Regions from separate parts of the Homo sapiens genome. Here region 2 is linked to region 1. The links are contacts of gene promoters, found by promoter capture Hi-C in human tissues and cell types (Jung and others, 2019). All regions are on one chromosome and are shown on one strand. Each heading gives the region's core, a stretch centred on a gene start or on the middle of the fragment in contact. The rest is flanking DNA. Distances are from core to core; before and after follow the strand shown.

Region 1 (5,721 bases), core at 2,053-4,552:
GGGGTTGTGTCCAGACTGCTGGCTGGAGGTCCGGATGTCCTTCAGGCTGGGCTAGGGGGCATGAAGACAGAGGGTCCTACCTCCAGAGGGGACCCAGGACGCTCGCCATCCTGAGAGGCTGGATTCCCCCTCCCGACCCTGGCAGGGACAGGGTGGGGTGGGAGAGGCCTCCTCGAGCATCCTCAGTGCACAACCCAGAGAAAGCTCATGGGACTGAGAGGAACAGGCTGAGAGATGGACTTTTAATGGAATGGAGGGAGATGGGGATGCATAGCCTGGGACACATGGGCCCTGGGTGCCTGTGCTGGGGCGAGTGAGAGAGCCAGTGTCCAGGTGAAGCTCCTTGCCTGGGGCATCTGCCCCATGACTGCAGTGGACTGGGAAGCCCTTAAGAGTATCACTACCCACTGATGTCCAAGTCTTGCTTGATAGTATGGTGTCCAGGGAATGGTCTTGGGGAGTGGGTTCCGGAGAGCCTGTGAGAGTTCCAGGGCGGGGTGCACATCATGGGGTGCCTGGGAGGGTATCTTTGGGAGAGTCTGTGGAGGAGGGAGTTGGGAGGTGTTGGAACACAGAGGAGGGCCTAGGGTCTAGTGGGGTCGTTATAGGATGCTCATGGGGACCTGAGCATGACATTTGGGAGGCTGGCTCTTTCCTGGGAGGAGCTGGGGGCTGAGGAAGAGGGTCAGGAAGTGTCCTGTGAGAGAGAACATTTGGGAGTATTTCGGGCGGAGACACAGTGCAAGAAAGTGGTCTTAGAGCAACAGGGGTCCACCCTGGGGTTTCGGGGGTGGATCTCAGAATGATGTGTTTTGGGAAGATGGATGGGGGATGGGTGATGGGACCACCTGGTCAGTGGAGGTGGGGCCAGGGGAGGTCTGGGGGAAAAATCCTGAGGGGAGGGGAGAGTTCTGCAGGGATGATGGATGCCAGGGGCATCCCATGGTGGGACCATTGTAGGAGAAACCCTTGAAAGTCAGAATTCAGGTCTCTGTGATGGATCTGGGGGGTCAGCACTTGTGGGGGGCATCCTAGGGGAAACCAATGAAGAGGTGGATTTGGGGTGCTGAGAACCAGGGGTATCTTGACAAGTGGAATCTTGACAAGTGGAATTTAAGAGTGTGTTTGGGGGGATTAGAAATAAGGGGAAGATTATGGGGGTGCACCCAGGGGTTGGAGCACTCACGGGAAGATTCTGGGAGGAGGTTGGAGCATTCCGGGGTAGAGACTGGGTTGGGGGGTCCCTGAGGAGCATACTAAGGGGGGTGGCAGTTTGGAGGGTTTGGAGCCCAGGGGTATTTTGGGATGCTATATCAAAAGCAATAGATAATGGGGTGAGATTAGGGAGTCAGTATTTGAGGATGTCTTGGGCACATAGTGGGTAATTAATGAATGTATGTGGGATCAATGCATGAATCACTTAAACTAGAAATGGAAGGAATTGGGTATGTGGCTTGGGTATGTGGCAGACCCTAGGGGTGTGTGTGGGCATGGGGTGGGTGGTCAGAGGCTTTCATGTTCTTCATGTTTGGGGTTGGGGGCAGGTGCCAGGTGGAGGCTTATCTATGACTCATAGGAGGAGGTGATATTTCTAACAATAGCCTTGAGGTAGTGAACTCCCCATCTCTGGGAGTGTGTAAATGGGAAGGGCACTTGTCAGAGGTGGTCTGGGGAGGGGGTGTCCCAACCCAAGGGTGCCTGGGGAGGGGCACAGATCACAGGAGGATGGGTTGACAGGATTAGAACTTAGTGGTCTGTTGGGAGTTATTCATGGGGAAGGTGGGTTTAGGGGGTCAGGATTGGGGTGTCTCAGGGCATGCATCACAGGAGGTGAGTTAGGTCAGCCTGTGGGGCGAGGTGCCCAGGAGTGGATGGGGCAGGCCCTGGAGGAAGGACAGGACAGAGCCGGCTGTAGCAGAGGCTTTACTGCCCCCACGCCCTCCCCAGCTCTGCCCTGGTCAGTAGCATTTGCGGTACACGATATAGGGACCCTGTTCCTCGTACTGCTCCCGCAGGACCCAGCAGGACTGGAAGGCGCGCAGGGAGGCCAGGATGGAGCCCCCGATCCATACGGAGAAATTCCTGGTGGGCTGGGCAGCCACCACCACGTGGGTCTCGGCTGGCAGAGCGCGCAGCAGCTCTGCCCGGAAGCGACCCTCGAAGCCGGTGAAGAGCGAGGACCCACCGCAGAGAAGCACGTTTTGGGCCAAGTCCGCGCGCATCTCCAGTGACAACTTGCGGAGACTCTGCTTGGCCATGGTGGAGAGGCCGACGGGTGACAGCCCCGGGACCTCTGGGGGGTTGAACAGCAGCTCCGGACACTGGAACAGCTCCTTGCCCAGGGTGACCGTGCGCCCATCGGGCAGCTTCAGAGTCCGCTTGTACTCCTGCTCCGGCCGGGCCTGCTCCTTCTGGAAGTCGGAGGCCACGTAGCAATAGTGGTGCTTAATGTTCTCCACTAGGTCCAGGTCCTGCTGTCCCAGGGGCAGGCCGGCCTGGAGCAGCATCTCCGCCAGGAAGGCGGTCAGGTTGTTGCCCGCCAGGTCCAGACGCTCCGTGGCGTGGAGCAGGTTGTAGCCCTGGAAGACGGGCACTGTGTAGGTGACCCCGTGTCCCGTGTCCACCACCAGCCCGCTGACACGACCGTGGGCGTAGACAGACAGCACCGACTGCGATGCCACGTACATGGCTGGGGAGCGCAGCGACTCGAAGGCCACCTCCACTAGCTTCTCGCGGTTGGTGGCCGGGCTGAAGGGTGGGTCGGAGAACAGCAGCGGGTGGTCGTGGGTGGCCACTCGGAGGTCGTGCTCCAGCAGGTGGCGCCAGATGAGCTCGGCGGCATCCCAGTCCACGACGATGCCGCTGCGCAGGGGTTGCACCAGCGTCAGCTCTGGGAGCACGCGGGCTGCCTCGCCGATGAACGTCTGCAGCCCGGACTGCCCCGAGGTGGCGGGTTTCTTGGGCTGGCAGCCCAGGATGGTGGCCACGGTGTAGGTGGGGCTGGCCTGCCCAGCAAAACCTACCTTACAGGTGCCTGTGCCCATGTCAATAACCACCGCGCCGGTCTTTGGTGGCAGCCTGTCGGCCACCATGCCGGGGGAGTCCCGCTGCAGGGGCTTGTTCACCACGTTGGGACTGGGGTTTGGGCCGGGCCTGGGGGCCTCCAGGGAGGACTGGGATTCCGAGGACTTGGGGCGACTTGCATCCATGGTTGCGGGACGCCAGGTGAGGGGGCTTTTCCTCTGGGGTTGGGGTTGCGGGGAGAAGAGGTTGAGGCCCGGCCAGTGGGGAGGGCAGGCAGACAGGGGGAGGGGTGGGCCCGCAATCTATGACGTCACGGTGCCCCTTCAGTCTTCTTAAGACATCACAATGCAGCCAAGAGGATGGGTCCCTGCCCAGCCCTGCCTGCCCAAAGGCTGTCATCTCTTCTCTGAAGAGCCAAATTTGGAGGAGGAGATGAGCATCTCAGAGCAGGGCCCTCTTAACACATTTCTGTCGGATGCGCTAGAAGCTAATACGATGGCACCTGGTTTTTGAGAAAAGACAAGCTTTTTGTTGCATGTCAACCCACTGGGAGCTAGGAATCCAGCACAAGTCTGTTTCTCAGCTGGCTTTAAGGCAGTAATTTTATTAGAAAAGTTCTGGGGCCGGGGGCTGTGGCTCACACCTGTAATCCCAGCACTTTGGGAGACCGAGGTGGGAGATCACCTGAGGTCAGGAGTTCGAGACCAGCCTGGCCAACATGGTGAAACCCGTCTCTACCAAAAAATACAAAAATTAGCCTGGCATGGTGGCGCATGCCTGTGGTCCCAGCTACTGGGGAGGCTGAGGCAGGAGAATCACTTGAACCCAGGAGGTGGAGGTTGAAGTGAACCAAGATCATGCCACCGCACTCCAGGCTGGGGGATGGAGTGAGACTCTGTCTCAAAAGAAAAAGAAAATAAAAGAAAAAAAATTAGCCAGGCATGGTGGCACATGCCTGTAGTCCCAGCTACTAGGGAGGCTGAGGCAGGAGAATCTCTTGAACCCGGGAGGTGGAGGTTGCAGCGAGCCAAGATCATGCTACTGCACTCCAGCCTGTATGACAGAGCGAGACTCATCTCAAAACAAACAAACAAACAAACAAAGAAACAAACAAAAAACCCTCATAAGTGGAAGGCATTTCAGCAAGTTGTTTCTTTTTTGATCTGCCATTCTGCAAGCTCAAACATTTCTTTGGGGCATGGTTTCACTAAAAACATGCAAAATTGGTTTCTCTAACTCTTTGGGCCACGCTTTCAGGAAGACCCAGGAATCCTCCTCTGGGTACCTCGCCATGAAGCTATTTACAGCCTAGTGGCAGAGAGCTTGCCACAGGCCTCCCTAGAATATTAGAATATTCCTCCTCAGAATATTAATTAGAAGGTGGGGCGGGCTAGCATGGCTTCCTGGTTTCCAAATGGAGACAGAGGCCAGCCTTGGTTGGGGATGGAGAGAGGCAGGGAGAGACAGGAACACCCCTGTCCTAGATTCTTTGCTTCCTCTGCTATATTCACTGCCTGAATCATTCTCCCTGTCCCATTCCTGCCAAGAAGGAATTTGCCTCTTCAAATCTCAGTCTGATGCCACCTCCTCCTGGAAGCCAACCCTGATTTCTACTCTGTACTCCAACTAGATGAGGGATGGGGGAAGTCTGCCTTCTCTCCAGGGGTTGTTACCTGCTTCCTCCTGGCAGGAGAGGGGCTCAGTGAGATACAAGAAGGGGTTTCAGTATAGATAAAAGGGGAGAGGGTGCATTTGGGAGGAAGGAATTATCTCAACAATAAATAGCAGGCTTCAAAATGCATTAGGAGAGTTGCTTCAAGACCATGGCTGTTTTTGGTGATATCAGATATCACCTGTTAGTTAAAGCAAATAAAAACGTTTTTCTTAGTGTATGTTCATGCATGTGGTGGTAGAAATCACCAGGAATAGTGCTAGTGAATGTCTTATGGGATATCTAAATGAAAGAGGTTTAATTTTCTAGTTGTGTCTAGATTTATTACTCTGCCAGAGTGTGGTTTATTGAGCATTTTAATTAATTATTGATTTACTGGTATGTGTGGTCTAATCCATGCTTTTGGAAATATTTACTCAGCAATTTATTGAGGGTCTGTTTTTTGGACTGTTCACAACAACCAGAAATACACTAAGTGATAACACTTTATTGTTTTCAATTTTTTTTTGAGACTGGGTCTTGCTATATTGTCCAGGCTGGAGTGTAGTGGTGCAATCACTGCTCACTGCAGCCTCCTTAACCTCGTGGTCTCAAGCAATCCTCCCACTTCAGCCTCCAAAGTAGCTGGGACTATAGGCATGTGCTACTATCTCCGGATAAGTTTTTAATTTTTTGTAGAAATGGGGTCTTGCTATGTTGCCCAGGCTGATCTTGAGCTCCTGGGCTCAAGTGATCCTCCTGTCTTAACCTCCCAAAGTGCTGGGATGACAGGGATTAGCCACCATGCCTGGCCTTTCTTCATTTTCTGATTTTAAAACATGGCAACTTCTTATGGCAACTTTATGACTTAGGAATGGGTACTATGTCTATTTTTTTGATGGAAAAGAAGCTCAGAGAGGTCAAGTGATTGTTCAAAGTCACAACTGGTATGAGACAGAGGCAGGAGTTGAGCCTACATCTTTGACTTACTTCAGTGGCTGACTGTGAGTCTGGGAAATTGTGAAATCTAAGATCCACCCAAAACA
Region 2 (5,721 bases), core at 2,070-4,569, 49 kb before region 1:
ATGGACTCTTGCTCTGTTGCCCAGGCTGGAGTCCAGTGGCGCGATCTCGGCTCACTACAACCTCTGCCTCCTGGGTTCAAGTGATTCTCCTGCTTCAGCCTCCCGAGTAGCTGGGATTATAGGTGTGTTCCACCACACCCAACTAATTTTTATACTTTTAGTAGAGATGGGGTTTCACCATGTTGGCCAGGCTAGTCTCGAACTCCTGACCTCAAGTGATCTGCCCACCTCGGCCTCCCAAAGTGCTGGGATTACAGGCGTGAGGCACTGCGCCCAGCCTAACCACTTGCCTTGTATTAATCTCCATTGCACAGATGAGGAAGCTGGGGCGCAGAGAGGTTAAGCAATTTGTCCAAGGCCACACAGCTGGCGTGGCCAGAACCAGGATTCCTGGACCCCTCACCTTGTGTTCAGTTCTGCCACTTGCTTCTGTTTTTACACCCAAAGGAGTTCTGACTGTTTCCCAGTAATGCCAGAGGCTGCATAACTGGAGAGAGGAAGTAAGAGCCACTCTTCCTTTGCCTAGAACCGTCAGTGGCTCCCCGAGGCCCCTGGGTTAAAGACCACAATCCCCACTGTGGCCGGCAAGCCCTGCACAATGCAGTTCCCTCTATCACTTCCCGTCCTGTCTCCCACTGCTGTCCCCACGTCACTCAGCCCTCACCGAGCTCCTCTTTGTCCCTCCAATTTGCCAAACACCTCAGGACCTTTGTCTGTGCTGTTCCCTCTGTCTAAAATGCCCTTCCTCTGCTGCTCCTCCTAAACCAAGAGCAAATGCGTATCCTCAGAGAAGTGACCCCTCACAGCCTTCCTCCTGACCCGGATCTAGGCTAGGAAAACCCAGGCAGGAAGAACACAGGCCCTGAGGCAGCTGGCCCCAGTTCAAATCCGACTCCATGACTGCCTTGCTGTGTGACCTTGGGCGGATACCTTGATCGCTCTGTGCCTCAGTTTCCTCATCTGTAAAATAGGATGTTAATAGGCAGGTACTCCTGCCTTATAAGTTTGGGTGAGGATCAGAGGAGGCTATTATGTGGAACGTGATTAGAACAATGCTGAACTCAGTTATGCAGGCAGCTAATAACAGTAGTGTAAAGGCAAGGGTTGGTGCACTATTCACAATAGCAAAGACATGGAATCAGCCCAAATGCCCATCAATGATAGACTGGATAAAGAAAATGTGGTACATACACACCGTGGAATACTATGGAGCCATACAAAGGAATGAGATCGGCCAGGCGCGGTGGCTCATGCCTGTAATCCCAGCACTTTGTGAGGCTGAAGTGGGTGGATCACCTGAGGTCAGGGGTTTAAGACTAGCCTAGCCAACATGGTGAAACCTTGTCTCTACTAAAAATACAAAAATTAGCTGGGCATGGTGGCAGGCGCCTGTAATCCCAGCTACTTGGGATACTGAGGCAGGAGAATCACTTGAACCCAGGAGGTGGAGGTTGCAGTGAGCCGAGATCGCACCACTGCACTCCAGCCTGGGGGACAAGAAGGACATTCTGTCCCCGCACCCCCCCCCCCAAAAAAAGGGAACGAGATCATGTCCTTTGCAGGGATGTGGATAGAGCTGGAAGCCATCATTCTCAGCAACCTAAACCAGGAACAGAAAACCAAACGCTGCATGTTCTCACTTATAAGTGGGAACTGAACAATGAGAACACATGGACACAGGGAGGGGAACAACACACACACACACACACACACGCACACATGCGCGCGCGCGCGCGCGCACACACACACACACACACACACACACACACACACACACACAACTGGGGCCTGTTGGGGGAGGGCAGGGTGGGAGAGCATCAGGAAAAATAGGGAAGCCAGGTGCGGTGGCTCGTGCCTGTAATCCCAGCACTTTGGGAGGCCGAGGCGGGTGGATCACGAGATCAGGAGATCAAGACCATCCTGGCTAACACGGTGAAACCCCGTCTCTACTAAAAATACAAAAAAAATTAGCCGGGCATGGTAGCGGGTGCCTGTAGTCCCAGCTACTTGGGAGGCTGAGGCAGGAGAATGCTGTGAACCTGGGAGGTGGAGCTTGCAGTGAGCCGAGATTGAGCCACTGTACTCCAACCTGGGCATGAGCGAGACTCCGTCTCAAAAAAAAAAAAAAAAAAAAAAAGGAAAAATAGGGAATGCCGGGCTTAATACCTAGGCGATGGGTTGACAGGTGCAGCAAACCCCCATGACACACGTTTACCTATGTCACAAACCTGCACGTCTCGCACATGTACCCTGGAACTTAAAAAAATAAATAAATAAAGGGAAGGGAAGAATGGGAAGCTAGTGTTTAATGGGTATGCTGTTTTGGTTTTGCAAGATGAAGCATTCTGGAGGCGGATGGTGGTGATGGTTGCACAATGTGAGTGTGCTTAATGCCTCTGAACTGTATGGACGCTGAGAAATGATTAAAATGGTTAGTTTTACATTATGTATATATTACTACACAAAAAAGGCAGATGTGGCTGGGCATGGTGGCTCATGCCTGTAATCCCAGATCTTTGGGAGGCCGAGGCTGGCAGATCACTTGAGGTCAGGAGTTCAAGACCAGCCTGGCCAACATGGTGAAACCCCATCTCTGTTAAAAATACAAACAAAACAAAACAAACAAACAAACAAAAAACCCAAAACTAGCCAGGCGTGGTGGTGCATGCCTGTAATCCCAGCTACTTGGGAGGCTGAGGGCAGGAGAATGGCTTGAACCTGGGAGGTGGAGATTTGCAGTGAGTCAAGACCATGCCATTGCACTCCAGCCTGGGCAACAAAGTGAGACTCTGCTTAAAAAAAAAAAAAAGGCAGATGTAAAAAAAGTAAAATTGTGATTTCAGGAAGCCCCTATCTTTTCTTTCAAGGCCCTTATCTCACCCTATAATTAAGCATATTTATGTATTTTTATTTATTTAGTTTTGAGACATGATCTTGCTTTGTCACCCAGGCTGGAGTGCAGTGGCATGATCATGGTTCACTGCAGCCTTAGACTCCTGGGCTCAAGTGATCCTTCCACCTCAGCCTCCTGAGTGGCTGGGACCACAGGCAGGCACCACCACACCTGGCTGACTTTCGTATTTTTTTTTGGAGAGATGGGGTCTTGCCACGTTGCCCAGGCTGGTCTTGAACTCCTGGGTTCAAGCAATCCTCCCACCTTGGCCTCCCAAAGTGCTGGGATTACAGGGGTGAGTCACCACACCTGGCAATTAAGCAATTTTTTTTTGAGACAAAGTCTCGCTCTGTTGCCCAGGCTGGAGTGCAGTGGTGTTATCTTGGCTCACTGAAACCTCTACCTCCCGAGTTCAAGCGATTCTTCTACCTCAGCCTCCTGAGTAGCTGGGATTACAGGTGCATGCCATCACGCCTAGCTAATTTTTTGTATTTTTGTTAGAAACGGGATTTTGCCATGTTGGCCAGGCTGGTCTTGAACTCCTGACCTCAGGTGATCCACCTGCCTTGGCCTCCCGAAGTGCTGGGATTACAGGCGTGAGCTACCGTGCCCGGCATAATTAAGCATTTTCAAAGCATAATTTTTCCATGAGCGCCTGTCTTGCCGGCTCTGCTGTATGGGTCCTGTTTTACTGAACTTTGGTTTTCTTGGTCCAGCCCAGTCCCTGGGCAGGGTGGGGAAAGCAGTTTGCCTCACATTGTCTGCAGAGAATTGAAAAGCAAGAATAAAAATCACCAGAAGGCAGTCTGCTTTTATCATTCACATATGCCCAGAATTCTAAAGAATGTTAGTAATAAAATACCCTGAAAAAAAAAATCTTTTGGCCGGGCGTGGTAGCTCACGCCTGTAATCCCAGCACTTTGGGAGGCTGAAATGGGCAGATCACCTGAGGTCAGGAGTTCGACACCAGCCTGCCTAACATGGTGAAACCCCGTCTGTACTAAAAATACAAAAATTAGCCGGTCTTGGTCGTGGGCGCCTGTAATCCCAGCCACTTGGGAGGCTGAGGCAGGAGAATGGCGTGAACCCGGGAGGTGGAGGCTGCAGTGAGCTGAGATCATGCCACTGCACTCCAGCCTGGCCAGCTGAGCAAGACTCCGTCTGAAAAAAAAAAAATTGGTTCCAAAAAATTACTGCGGTTACAGCTGAGGTTTTTTTTTTTGTGGTTGTTTGTTTTGATAACTTTTACATTTTGAAATAGTTTAAGACTTACAAGAAGCTGCAAAAATAGCACAGAGCTCTCATGTCCCCTGCACCCAGCTTCCTCTAACAAGATCTTACATGACCACAGTCCAGTGTCAAGATCAGCACATTGCATGAGTGAGTTAGCCCTACATGGATGGGTATAAAGAAATTAATAGAGGCTGCGTGCGGTGGCTCACGCCTGTAATCCCAGCACTTTGGGAGGCCAAGGCAGGGGGATCTCCTGAGGTCAGGAGTTTGAGACCAGCCTGGTCAACATGGCAAAACCCGTCTCTACTAAAAATACAAAAATTAGCCGGGCGTGGTGGCACGCGCCTGTAATCCCAGCTACTGGGGAGTCTGAGGCAGGATAATTGCTTGAACATGGGAGGCGGAGGTTACAGCGAGCAAAGATTGAACCACTGCACTCCAGCCTGCAAGATGGAGTGAGATTCTGTCTCAAAAAAAAAAAAAAAAGAAGAAAGAAATAGAAATAAAAGGAAACTCATGCTAAAAAAAAAGATCAGGACATTGATGCTGATAGAATATGACTGATTCTCTCCAGTACAGAATTTACTTGGATTTCTCTAGTTACTATTTATTTTCATAATTTACGTATTTATTTATTTGAGGTTTCATAATGTACATGTAAACTTCAACTTAGCGCATTTTCATCATTTATTCTTGGTGAACTTTGTGTTCTCCATGGAAATTAATTCAGAGAAATTCCCATGTACAGAGGCAGTCCACATAAGCGGATTTAATTATCCACTTTCTTTTTCTTAAATTTATTTTTAGTTATTGTGGAACCATAATAGGTGTACATATTTATGGAGTATATGTGATATTTTGATAAAAACATACAATGTGTCCTGATAAAATCAGGGTAATTGTGACGTCCATTACCCCAAACATTTATTTGTGTTAGGAACGTTTCAATTACAATTGTTTAATTATTTCAAAATATATAATAAGCTTTTTTTTTCTTAGATGGAATCTTGCTCTGTTGCCCAGGCTGGAGTGCAGTGGAGTGATCTCAGCTCACTGCAACCTCCGCCTCCCAGGTTCAAGCGATTCTCCTGCCTCAGCCTCCTGAGTAGCTGGGATTACAGGTGCCCACCACTAGGCCCAGCTAATTTTTGCATTTTTAGTAGAGACGGGGCTTCACCATGTTGGCCAGGCTAGTCTCAAACTCCTGACCTCAAGTGATCCACTCGCTTCAGCCTCCCAAAGTGCTGGGATTACCGGCGTGAGCCACTGCGCCCGACCTTCAATAAGTTATTGTTAACCATGGGTGCCCTATTGTGCTACGGAACACTAGGTATTATTTCTTCTATCTAACTTTTTTCTTTCTTTAGAGACAGGGTCTCGCTCTGTTGCTCAGGCTGGAGTGCAGTGGGGAGATCACAGCTCATTCCAGCTTTAAATTCCTGGACTCATGCGATCCTCCTACCTCAGTCTCCTGAGTAGCTGGGACCACAGGTATGTGCCACCATGCCTGGCTAATTTTTAAACTTTTAATAGAGATGGGGATCTCACGATGTTTTCCAGGCTGGTCTTGAACTCCTGGCCTCAAGTGATCCTCC

Evidence for each region. Contacts are between HindIII fragments. The study calls those that stand out against the background at their distance.
Region 2: a contact is called between a fragment that was not itself captured here and the fragment with the promoter of ACTL9 in region 1, in 1 of the 25 tissues and cell types used here (psoas muscle).

What each region holds. Positions count from the first base shown.
Region 1 is chr19:8,695,493-8,701,213 of GRCh38, forward strand. It overlaps ACTL9 (actin like 9), which reads right to left and starts at 3,303. Exons shown (of 1, transcript NM_178525.5): 1 at 1,908-3,303. The coding sequence starts at 3,209. The coding sequence ends at 1,959. The HindIII fragment of the contact is 20,213 bases long and covers 1-5,721 here.
Region 2 is chr19:8,646,058-8,651,778 of GRCh38, forward strand. All of the region lies in intron 3 of NFILZ (NFIL3 like basic leucine zipper), which reads left to right. Among named protein-coding and RNA genes, the nearest start is that of NFILZ, 18 kb to the left of the region's middle. The HindIII fragment of the contact is 7,952 bases long and covers 1-5,721 here.